Linked DNA regions of Homo sapiens: region 2 is linked to region 1. The links are contacts of gene promoters, found by promoter capture Hi-C in human tissues and cell types (Jung and others, 2019). All regions are on one chromosome and are shown on one strand. Each heading gives the region's core, a stretch centred on a gene start or on the middle of the fragment in contact. The rest is flanking DNA. Distances are from core to core; before and after follow the strand shown. Region 1 holds the start of ARID3B (AT-rich interaction domain 3B). Region 2 holds the start of LOC101929408 (a long non-coding RNA gene).

The links. Contacts are between HindIII fragments. The study calls those that stand out against the background at their distance.
Region 2: a contact is called between a fragment that was not itself captured here and the fragment with the promoter of ARID3B in region 1, in 1 of the 25 tissues and cell types used here (spleen).

Annotation. Positions count from the first base shown.
Region 1 is chr15:74,538,345-74,544,515 of GRCh38, reverse strand. ARID3B (AT-rich interaction domain 3B) reads right to left here and starts at 3,296. Exons shown (of 9, transcript NM_006465.4): 1 at 3,186-3,296; 2 at 28-656. The coding sequence starts at 579. It overlaps LOC124903528 (a long non-coding RNA gene), which reads left to right and starts at 3,428. Exons shown (of 2, transcript XR_007064719.1): 1 at 3,428-3,618. RefSeq lists enhancers at 2,301-2,360, 3,711-3,860, 3,435-3,976, 3,911-4,040 and silencers at 2,350-2,534, 3,051-3,410. The HindIII fragment of the contact is 13,134 bases long and covers 910-6,171 here.
Region 2 is chr15:75,755,622-75,761,792 of GRCh38, reverse strand. LOC101929408 (a long non-coding RNA gene) reads right to left here and starts at 3,251. Exons shown (of 4, transcript XR_932487.3): 1 at 3,166-3,251. The HindIII fragment of the contact is 5,413 bases long and covers 1-4,923 here.

The DNA.
Region 1 (6,171 bases), core at 2,047-4,546:
ATGACCTACAATACCAGAAAGACTGACCTGCTTGAGCTGCTCATCCAGATTCCAGTTCGGCTGTCCTGCTGTGGAGACAGAAGGTGAGGCCTTGGAAGCATCTTTGGTATGGTCTTCTTTAGCTTGTTGTCCATGTGGTGGGAGCCCTGGTGCTGGAAGTAGATTGGACATGGGTGCCACTCTGGGATCTTGGCGAGCTACTTTCTGCACATGAAAATATTTTGAAGCAGCCTGGGTTTCTTTCTCAGCCACCTCTGCAACTTCATCATCCCCATCCTCATCTTCCAAACCTCCGTCCTCTTCCTCAGGCTCTGAGTTCATGTTGCCCCGTTCAAACACTTGGGCCACTGCTGCGGTGGGTGGAACTCTGGCTAAGGGACCTAAGGGAGTGCTGCCAGAAGGTCTCCCAGCTGTGGCGGAAAGGAGAGTCGGCTGTGTGACCAGCTTTTGGGCATACAAGAACTGGGCTTCTCTCATCTGCTGGCCCTGCTTCTCTCTGGCATCCATCTGCAGAGGAGCCAGGTGTGGCTGCTTCTGTTGTTGCTGCTGCTGCTGCTGCTGCTGCTGAAGTGGCTCCATTTTTGCCTCAAGCTTCACCCACAGAGTGGCATGACTCTGAACCTGGGCACAGCCCACCAGGCACACTGGGTCTAAACCTTAGTGATTAACAGAAACCACAAAGAAGGAGGGGGAAAAAACAACCATGTTAAGCAGGTATAAAAAGGTTTCCTTTTCTCCAGTAGAGGGCCATGAGTTCCGAACGCTAAACATATGCTCCTAAACCTGAGTTTTAAGATGAGTGAGTGGTGGGGGTTTCGTGGGTGGGTAGGAAAAGGTGTGAAGAAGAGAAACAGGATCTAAGAGGGGAAATAGGGAATGAATTTCAGTAGTAGTAGCAGGCTTTAAAAGAAGTACATCCAGCCAATATCTAGTCTGCTAACGTGTTCTGATCTCTCTTCCTCTACATTATCAAACATTAATCTGTTACTGAACTAATGTTACTGAACATTAATTACTGAAAAGGTAACTGGGTTTGCACTGTAGCAGAAGCATAATTATGCAAACAACAATAATAAAGGAAAAGAAGGACCTGCCTGCAAAGGAGAGAGTATGTTCCCAAGCCCACAGGAGAAAGATATCACCTCTAAGCTAGACACAGAACTATCAGGCAGACAGTTTTACTCTCATAGAAAAAGCAAGACCAAGCAAGCTGCTCTTGGGTCTAAGCTTTTCAAATTTCCCTGATCAAATTGCCAGCCTGCTTGTTGAGTGGACTGAGCCATACTAACTGGACATTATAGCCTCAAAAAGAATCCAATTTCAACAACATGAAAGAAACACGCAAGGAGGCAAGAGTCTCAAATTGCAATCGTCACTCAAAAGCAAACGGGGGAATTCCTCTGGAGATTTTAAAGTTAATTAATTTGAAACAGATATCAACATTGTCTGAACAACAAGTTAATGCTGCTTCTTTTTTATAAACAGCGAAGTAAATCTCTTCACATCCCCTTTCTTTCTGATTCATTTCTATTATGATATTCTCTGACAAACACAAAAAGAAAAGTCTTTCGGGCCAAAAGCATTCTGGGGGCAGGTTTATCTGCATTCTTACCAATCAGTCTCCAAACACACATCACTTTCACACCCTCTTCTCCTTTTACTCCCCCACCTCTCCCCTGCAGGCCCTCACCCCCAACAAACTTCACTTGAGTTATGTTTCTTCAGCAAGTCTCCATAACTGAATGGATTACTATGCAAGGGCAATTTTAGGTGAACAGGACTTGCAACATGGCGTACAATTTTGTCATCACATGAAAGAAGCTGCACTGCACATGTTGGGACTTGATATCTGCATTGTTCCAGTGTTTTAGGATTGGGTCGAAAGACAAAAAACAAAGTGTCTTTAGTATCTTCAAAAATTCACGGAGAAGTAATCACATCTTCAGCAATAAAAACTGCTTGGATTTAAGATTTTTTCCAGGTTAGAGTAAAAAAGGGTACAATTTTTAAAGCTAGGCCAATTAGTAGAGATTAAAAATTCTCATTTTCTGTTTATCTTATAGCCCTGTTTGTGCCTTTTGTGTTCTGTGAAAGATTCGCATTCCAATTTGCCTCTTACTGCCTTTACTTCCTCTCTTGGCACTTCAGAAAGTGTGAGTTACGCTTGCAGCAATACTTTCATTCTGCTTTAGCTCTTCTTACAGTGTAAAAAAGCATGACAAGATTTACATCCACATTAAATTCAGTTGGCAAAAGTGTTCATTTAAAATGAAAACAATTTGGGTCAAAGAAAATTACAGAATAAAGCAAATAATTCGGTGTTCATTTTAAATGTCCTCATAGTCATTACAGTCAATCAATCACGATCGGAATAACTTCTCAACCAAGTCCTGCCAGTCACTGAACAACTGCTTCTTGTCTTGTGGCACCATCTTCTCTGAATGCTGTCCCCAGCAGAGGGGGAGGTGTCCCTCCCACAGCCTCTTATAGTAAGACTGAGATGACTCAGTTCTACAACTCAATACACACACCCTCCCCCAAAGAGCCCATTTTCCCGCAGTCCCTAAGCAGCCAGCGATCCAAACAATGCCACCTGCCTACATTTGGAGAACTTATGTCTCAAATCTAAACCTCTTCATCCCTTCACACGGGCCCCTCCCCCATTTCCCCTAAAGTTCCCGGACCACCAAGCCGGGTACAACGGACTACCTGCAGCTTTGAACCCGGCCTGCTGACCATTCCCCTGCTTTTGCTGCCGGATTCTTTTGGCCCCGGGCCCCTGTAAGCCCCACAGCCCACCTTCCCGGTCACCCCTGCACGCCTCCCCCCATTCTTTATTCACCTCCCCCCATTCAGCCCTATCATTTTTACCTCTACCAACCCTCCCAGCCAATCCGCTGGCTCTTCCGATGGCCCCCGCCCCACCTATCTGCGCGCCCACTCAGCTCCAGGGCCCCTCACCCTTCTCATCGCTTTATCTCAAACGCTTTATCTCAAATGCCCTAATGGGCACAGGGCGCTCGGGGCTCCCGCGGCGCTCTCACTTTCCTTCGCGGTCCCCGCGCCCCCGACTCGCGCATTCCCCTCTCTCTCTACACCTGCCTCGGCTCCTGGCCTCGGCCCCTCCACCTGTCGCAGCCTCCTCTCCCGCCATGCCTGAGGGAGCCCGGACCCGGGCCACTTACCTGTGCGGGGCACTCCGGGTTTTCGGGCGGCGGAGGAGGCGGCAGCTCAGGCCCCGGCGCGGCAGCTGCGTCTCGGACTCCTCCGCAGCCGGGGGCCACAGCCGGGGCGGGGCCCGCACCGGAAGCGGCGCCGCGGGGCTGGACCGCCAGCCAGGGGCGGGGGCGGGGGCGGGGCGGGGCCACAGGGGGCGGGGCGGGACCGAAGCCGGAAGCTGCTAGAAAGGGACCGGGGGGCGGGGTGGGACGAGGCGGAAGTGACTCCTACGGACCGCGCAGCCCGACTGAGTTGTGGGAGGAAGCGAATGGAAGCGGGCGGAAGCCTCGGCCAATGGCAAAGTGCGGACACAGAGGGGTTCCGGTGTGAGCACTTCCGCGGGGAGTTGAAAAGAGCTGGGCGGGAGATCGTGTTCTCCGAGCGTTTTCTATTGCGGAGGTTGGTGTGGCTTGGGCGGTTGGCTGGGAGGAAAGTAACTAAAGAGCAGAGGAGTGTAGGGTTTGCCGTCGCTTCGGTCCCCTCCTCAATCTCCTGCCTTCAAGCCGGTCTTCCTCAGAGGTTCTCGTGTTTAGATCAGCTTGTCTCTAAACTTCTCCGCTCCTTCCTGGGACAGAGACCTGGCTGTCCCGAGAATGTTGCGTCCCTTGAAACTTTCTCACATGAATTAGTATTCTCAGGTCTCAGTTTGCAGAGGTCGGGATTATGTGCCAGGTGCTGTCACCTCTTGTAAAAACACTTGCTTCTTCAGCCCTTCCCCTTAGACTCTGTCACCTACTTCACCCCGTTTGGAGATAATCTGCCGATCTGTGTATCCAGCTCCTTGTCTGTCTCCCGTCTGACCATCTTTGATAATTTCAGAGCCTATGTGGCCAACCCATTCAACATCGGGCCTCGTCTTTAGCGACCCTTATATCAGCCTCCCAATCCCAGTTAAAACCTGGACCTTGTCCCTCCAAACGCTATCGCGTCACGACTCAGTAATTTGAACAACCCTCTTTTCAACCACAGCCTGCTATTCTCTCAGCTTGACTACTTTTGAATTATAGGCCTGATGCAGTAGCTCACGCCTGTAATTTCAGCACTTTGGAAGGCTGAGGCAGGCGAATCTCTTGGGCCCAGTAGTTGGAGAGCAGCCTGGGCAACAAGGCGATACCCCATCTCTACAAAAAATACAAAGTTTAATGAGGCGTTTTGGCGCATGCCTGTGGTCCCATCTACTCGGAAGGCTGAGGTGGGAGATCACCTGAGCCCAGGAGAGGCGGAGGTTGCAGTGAGCCATGATTGTGCCACTGCACTCCAGCCTGGGTGACAGAGACACTGTTCCCCCCCCCCAAAAAAAATAGAATTACAGCATAACTGTTATTACTGTTATTTCACTTTTTTTTTTTAGAAGGAGTCTTGCTCTGTCGCCCAGGCTGGAGTGCAGTGGCGCAACCTCAGCTCACTGCAACCTCCGCCTCCTGGGTTCAAGCAATTCTACTGCCTCAGCCTCTCGAGTAGCTAGGATTACAGGTGTGCGCCACCAAGCCAGCTAATTTTTGCATTTTTAGTAGAGACAGGTTTCGCCATGTTGGCCAGGCTGGTCTCGAAGTCCTGAACTCAGGTGATCCGCTCGCCTCGGCCTCCCATAGTGCTGGGATTACAGGCGTAAGCCACTGCACCCGGCCTGTTCTTTCACTTTATCAGAGCAGAGCATCTAATCGGTTGAAAGCCTCTACTTTATCTCTTATACATTAATCCCCTCTTCACTTCCTTCCTTATCCATTTTAGATTCAGTGGTACATTAATACAGTCCTGCCCCTACTTAATCTTAATCCCACCACAACACTCCTTTTTCCCCAACGAAATCCCTCACCCTGGATGGACCTATGTGTTTCTCCTTGCTTGTACCTTGTCATAGAAAGTTGTCCTGTTGCTGGGCGTGGTGGCTCATGCCTGTAATCCCAACACTTTGGGAGGCCGAGGTGGGCGGATCACGAGGTCAGGAGTTAGAAACCAGCCTGGCCAATATGGTGAAACCCCGTCTCTACTAAAAATACAAAAATTAGCTGGGTGTGGTGGCGCATGCCTGTAGTCCCAGCTACTGGGGAGGCTGAGGCAGAAGAATCGCTTGAACCTGGACGGCGGAGGTTGCAGTTAGCCGAGATCACGCCACTGCACTCCAGTCTGGGTGACAGAGCAAGATTTCATCTCAAAAACAAAAAAATTGTCCTGTTGAGGCCGAGCACGATGGCTCATGCCTGTAATCCCAGCACTTTGGGAGTCCGAGGCGGGTGGATCACCTGAGGTCAGGAGTTTGAGACCAGCCTGACCAACATGGTGAAACCCTGTCTACTAAAAATACAAAAATTAGCCGGGCGTGGTGGTGAAGACCTGTAATCCCTGCTACTCCAGAGGCTGAGGCAGGAGAGCTTGAACCTGAGAGGAGAGGTTGCAGTGAGCTGAGATTGCATCATTGCACTCCAGCCTGGGCAACAAGAGCAAAGCTCCACCTCAAAAAAAGAAAAAGTGTCCTGCTGAACAGATTGGCGTCACTACATTAATAAAGACCAACTTTAAATGGACTGTGGGTCAGGTGCGGCGGCTCACACCTGTAATCCCAGCACTTGGGAGGCTGAGGTGGGTGGATCATGAGGTCAGGAGTTCGAGACCAGCCTGGCCAACATTGTGAAACCCCGTCTCTATTAAAAATACAAAAATTAGCTGAGCGCAGTGGCAAGCACTTGTAATCCCAGCTACTTTGGAGGCTGAGGCAGAAGAATTGCTTGAACCCGGGAGGTGGAGTTTGCATTGAGCTGAGATCGCGCCACTGCACTCCAGCCGGGGTGACAGAGCAAGACTCCGTCTCAAAAAAAAAAAGGACTGTGAACTGTGACTAGAAATTTCATTATATTTTTCTAGTCAACTTGCTCTCCACGATCTCTACAAATCTCTGACCTATACCCTTACCACTTCCCCTGACTTCCTTATCATGTAAGTAACAGAAAATGT
Region 2 (6,171 bases), core at 968-3,467, 1.2 Mb before region 1:
ACTGACCGAGGTCTGAGATGACCGTGTCTACCAAGAGGCCCTCTGCCTCCCCCAGGGTGTGCAGACCCACACGAGAGCCTGGGCTGATGCCGCCCTGAAGAAGGTGGCACCCACTCTGACGGTCAGTGGGTCCAGCCTGGTGGGAGGATCATCCCACTTCAGGGGGCTGGGCAGCCTGGGGGGCCTAAGGGAGGTCATCTCTTCCAGCCTCCTGCCTTCAACCCCAGAACCCAGGTCTGAGCCCTGGGTCACCCAGGGCCACCCTGGACCCACCGGAATTCCTCCACCACCACTGGTCAAAGTTCTGCAGAGATCTGAGGACGAGGGTCAGCTGGGGGGTCAGGAGAGGATGAAGAGGGTCACAGCTCTACCAAAGTCTTGTCCAGTCATCCCCCATCTTCCCGAGGCTTCTTCCCCGCCCCCCCACTTCATCCCGCCACTTCACCCATCTTGTCGGTTGCCCCTGAAGTGCCCAGAACTCAAGGCTGGTTTTGTCCTCCAAGGCCTTGGTGTAGGGCTGGCCCAGGATCTGCAGCCAAACTTCATACAGCACCAGCTCTGCCTTCTCCCCTAGAGCGACAGGGGTGGAGGTGGCATCGGCCTGCATCCCCTCTCCTGGAAGCCCTGGAGTGGGACACACACCCAAGCTCTAATGCTCCATCCAGGGGTCAGCTGCTGTTGGTGTAAAGGCCAAATTTCTTGCTGCCTGCTTTTGTGTGGCCCACGCGCTAAGAATGGCTTTTACATGTTTAAATGGTTGAAAACATGGAAAGTAGAGTCGTATCTTGTGACACATGAGAATTACGTGAGATGCAAACTTCCATGTCCATAAAGAAAGGTTTCTGGGAATGTGGCCACGCTTATCTGTTGACATGTTGCTAGGGCTGCTTTCTTGCTACAGGGGAGGGTTTGAGTAGGTGGTGACAGAGACCCAGTGGCCTGCAGAGCCTTAAAGAGTTCCCATCCGGCCCTTTACAGAAAACGCTTGCTAACCCCTGCACTGATCCACCTAATGGAATACACTGCCCACTCCGTGAGTTGATCCTAGTAGGAAATGTTGCTGATAATTTAACAGCTGCTGCTTTTATGTTTTATTTTGTCCCTGCTCTGGTGGGAGACATGTAAGAAAATTCACTCCCTGGGAGGAGGTCATGGTGGGGCTTGTGGCCATCAACGGTGAAGCCTCTTTAAGAGGATGCGTGGGGAGCTCTACCATCTGCTGAGAGGGTTGTGAGGGGCCCTCTGTGTTGAGGAATGAAGAGGGAACGCTGCCTGTGTGCTGGGAGCTGGCTTTCTGGGGAGCAGAAGAGATGGTGGTTCGGGCCTGCGGAGGCAGAGGCCCAAACCAATCTGGTCTCTGGGGCTGCCGGCAGGGAGAGTAGTTGTGTAGGAGTGGGTGCAGGGGCAGAGCCTGAAGGAGGGCACCCCTGACTGCACCCCCAGGAGGCTGTGGTGGTGGGGGTGGGGCAGCACTGTAGGAGGACCAGCGCCTTCTGTGGCTGAGGGGTCCTTGGAGAGCAGCTCCAGGCAATGCGTAGCTGGAGGGGACTGATTTGACCCAGCGCTCTCCTAAGCCACAATGCCCGGCCTAATGTACTGTTTATTTAAAATTCTAAGGATCTTTAATAATTTTAATAAGGATCTTTAAATAATTTTCCATGGATCATATTTTTATTGCATTTTAAAATAATTTACAATTTGCTTTCACACATATTCTCCCTCATCTGATCCTCACAACTGCCCTGGGAAGGAGGTTGGAGACAGAGTTGGGGCCTGTTAGGAGACAAATTTACACAATGCATAAGAAAGCTCACTGTGAGCCGGGGTGAAGAAGGGAGGCTTGGAGAATCATGAATGCAGTATCTATGTCTATATTCCCAGCCCAACCACAAAGCCTGAAATTCATTTAGGTATTTAAGAAATAGCTGCTGAATTATTGCCTAGGGGTGCTCAGCTCAAGAAGCAGGGTTGAGACTAACAATCAAGCTTCCTGACTCCTAGCCCAATACTTTTCCAAACACACCACCTATTTTTCTGTATCGGATAGAAAGTATAGTGCTTAAGTTGTACATAATGTTAACTCACTTTCAATACAGGCCAATCATGATTGACTATCAGTAGCTTTTGTGACAAACTTAGTAAACTAGGAAGTTGAACCTTTCAGAGTTCCCCTTCTCATGTCATATGCTATTTCTGTTTTGAAATAAAAATCCTTCCAAATGAAACTTTATCCATCAAAATGACAAGAGAAGTGAAAATAGATACAAGAAGAAAATAAAACATTAATTTCAACATGGCTTTGTCTATTTTGCTTTAAAAGTATAACCACCAAGCCATTCTATTTTTAGGAAGACACATTCTTTTTGGAATGTTAAAAACTATGATAACTATTCTTAAGTCCTAAATGACCAGTATGGGTATTAGTAGATAACTGGACACAGTGCAAGGTCAGAAGGGTGACTGAGTGTGGCAGAAAGGGCAGTATCTCCAGCAACTGCAGATGGATAAATGACAATGAGTCCAGATAATGGATTATGATACAACCATTCAAATAATGCTTATGAGTACTTGATAACATAGGCAAAAGCTTAAGATACAATGTTTTAGACAGAAAAAAGGGAAGGTGGAAAAAAATAGATGGAAAGCATGACTTCAATCATGCATACTGATGCTTCCACTTTATTTTTATTTTTTGAGACAGGGTCCCACTCTGTTGCCCAGGCTGGAGTGCAGTGACATCATGATCTCGGCTCACTGCAGCCTCTACTTCCTGGGCTCAAGCAGTGCTCCCACCCTAGCCTCCTAACTACCTGGGACTACAGGCATGTGCCACCATGCCCAGCTAATTTTTTGTATTTTTAGTAGAGATGGGGTTTTGCCATGTTGCCCAGTCTGGTCTCAAACTCCTGAGCTCAAGGGATCTGCCTGCCTCGCCCTCCACAAGCCGGCCGGCCTGCTCTGTCTTACCCGCCCCCCCACTCCTGCCCCCCACTCCTGCCCCCGTCTCAGGAGCGGGATGGCGGTGGACTCTTCTCTACCAGACCTGCAGCCCTCACACCCGCACACACTGTGTTTGCGGAGAGGCCAGTGAAGACACCCTCCCCCCGTTTCCGGAGCCACTGTCGCCCCCTCATTCCCGCTCCAGCAGCCCATGCCTCGCTTCACCTCTGGTGCCTCACCATCAGGCCAAGAAGCCAGGGCCCGGGAATTTCTTTTTCCGGTGGCGCCAGGTCAACAGATTCGACGATCACGTGACTTGGACAAACGGCCTCTGGGAGGGCGGGGTCTGCTCGAGTGAGGCCGGAAGCGGACCACAGCCCGCAGGAGGTGCTGGAGGGCGAAATGCTGGCGTCTCCTCCTATGTCTTCCAGAATCCTTCCCTGGAAAAAAAGCAGCGCCCACCGCCAGTTTAACTGAGGACCGAATTAAGACATTAGGAAAGACAGTGGAAGTTATTTCATTTGTTTAACTTAAGGGGGTAGGATCCCGGGAGCCAGGGGGATTCAGGTCATTGCCATGTTTTCCACTGTTAAGCGAATAGCATTATACACAGCTGCGGGCTGCGGCAAAAGACATTTTAAAAACTATTGAAATCTACTACACATGCAGAAAATTGTACCTATTAGAAATATAAAGCTTAATAAGTGTTCATTAACTGTAGACCTCACATAACCAGCACCCAGATAAGGAAATAACCAGATAACTTCTTCAAGTGCATGGGTGTTTTATTTCATTTTGATGAATTGTGTAGGTGCCTAGCAAAAAGGGCTGTCATAATTAACATGCTCAGGAAAACTCCCTACAATTTCAACATCAATAGATGCTTATTTTTTGCCAGTCTGATGGGGGAAAAAATCCGTTGCTTAGATTGCAGTGGTAGTCTGCTTACTGGTAGCTCTGAGCTAATGGGTTGTCTAAAACAACTAAGTTTCCGACATTGACTTGAAGAGGCAAAAACAAAAAGACAAAACAACAACAAAAATACATTAGAGAATAGACTAATAACCAGAGAAGAAATTGAATACAGTTGTCCCTTAGAAACCTCAGGATATTGGTTCCAGGACCCCAGAGATACCAAAATTCACAGATGCTCTGATATAATATGGCATAGTATTTGCATATAACCTATGCACATCCTTCCGTAGACTTTAAATCACCTCTAGATTACTATAATACTTAATACAACGTAAATGCTTTGTAAATAGCTGTATGAAGTATTTTTAAATTTGTTTTTTTATTTTACTTTTTCCAAATATTTTTGATGCACAGTTGGTCAAATCCAAGGATCCAGAACCCGAGGATACAGAGGGCTGACCGTAGTTTGAGCTCTCTCCTCAATTCCATGCCTATCCCATGCACCAGGTGCAGCTGGTTTTATTGCAGGCTTTCAGGTTTTCAAAAGACAGAGCTCATGACAAGTAAACTGCTCTATGGAATAGAAAGAAATGGAAAATGTCCCAATTCATGGTAAAATTGAACTCATTTCTGAAGAGTTCTTTTACAAATCATAAGCACTAGCCTGTTGAAAACAACAGTATGTTAAGTTACTAGACTATCCTATACCATGTCAAAGAAAAATTTTAAGAACATAAGACCTTTAATCATAGCACTTTGGGGGACCAAGGCCAGTGGATCACTTGAGCCCAGGAGTTCTAGACCAGCTTGGGCAACATAGGGAGACCCCAGTCTCTACAAAAAATTAGCTGCTTCTGCTGGTGCACAAGTGTCGTCCCAGCTACCTAAGAGGCTGAGGTGGGAGGATCTCTTGAGCATGGGATGTGGAGGCTGCAGTGAGCCATGATGGTACCTCTGTACTCCATCCAGCCTGAGCAACAGAATGAGACCATCTCAAAAAAAAAAAAAAAAAGGAAAACAGAAAAAAAAAAAAAAAAGGCTGGGTGCGGTGGCTCACGCCTGTAATCCTAGCACTTTGGGAGGCCAAGGCAGGCAGATCACCTGAGGTCAGGAGTTGGAGACCAGCCTGGCCAATATGGCAAAACCCGTCTCTACTTAAAAAAAAAAAATAGCTGGGCATGGTGGTGGGTGCCTGTAATCCCAGCTACTCGAGAGGCTGAGGCACGAGAATCGCTTGAACCCGGGAGGTGGAGGCTGCAGTGAGCTGAGATTGCACCGCTGCATTTCAGTCAGCTTGAGCAACAGGGTGAGACTCCATCTCAAAAAAAAAAAAAAAAGACGTAAGAATGGTTCAACTTTTATTTCATCCTATCAATAGGTTAAAGAAGAGAAAAATGGATAGATTTGGAAAACCATTTTTTATTTAAAAAGAGAAAATTAAGAACCGATGAAAAACTGTCTTAAGAGTATTTGAAAAAAACAGCAAATTTAACATCAGACAGACAAAGTATTTAAATTCAGAAATAAAGTGGGTGGCGTGCTGGAGCATTTTAATGTCATACTGGAGCATTATTTCACAGATACTTGTTTTACAATTAAAGATGATTTGACTATTTAGAGCCGTGGTTCTCATACATTAGAGTGCATCATAATCCCCTGCAGGGCTTGTGAAACGGGCTGCTGGGCCCCACACCAGAGTTTCTAACTCAATAGGACTGAGGTGGGGCCTGAGCATTGCATGTCTATGTTCCCAGGTGACGCTGATACTTCCAATTTGAGACTATGCTTTGAAAACCACAAATATAGGGAAATATACTAGAGAATATGTTATGAATATACTGGAGAATATGTATATATGTTAACTTACAGATTTCTGTGCAGTGGAAAAGATAATTCCCAAGGATGACAGTTTTATTTCCCAATACAATTTTTTTTTTGAGTCAGCTCACTGCAGCCTCTACCTCCCAGGTTCAAGTGATTCTCCTGCCTCAGCCTCCCAAGTAGCTGGGACTATAAGCACCCACCACTGTGCCTGGCTAATTTTTGTATTTTTAGTAGAGACAGGGTTTCACCATGTTGGCCAGGCTGGTCTTGAACTCCTGACCTCAGGTGATCCACCCACCTCGGCCTCCCAAAGTGCTGCGATTACAGGCATGAGCTATCATGCCTGGCCTCCCTACAGGATATTAACAAGTTTTGTCTCTATCTCAGAATGCATTTCAGAATGCACTTCCTGGAACACTATAGACACTGTCTCTCAAAATGCTCCTCTAACTAGCTTCACCATGTTGCTGACTCCCTTGTAAATTAAAATAT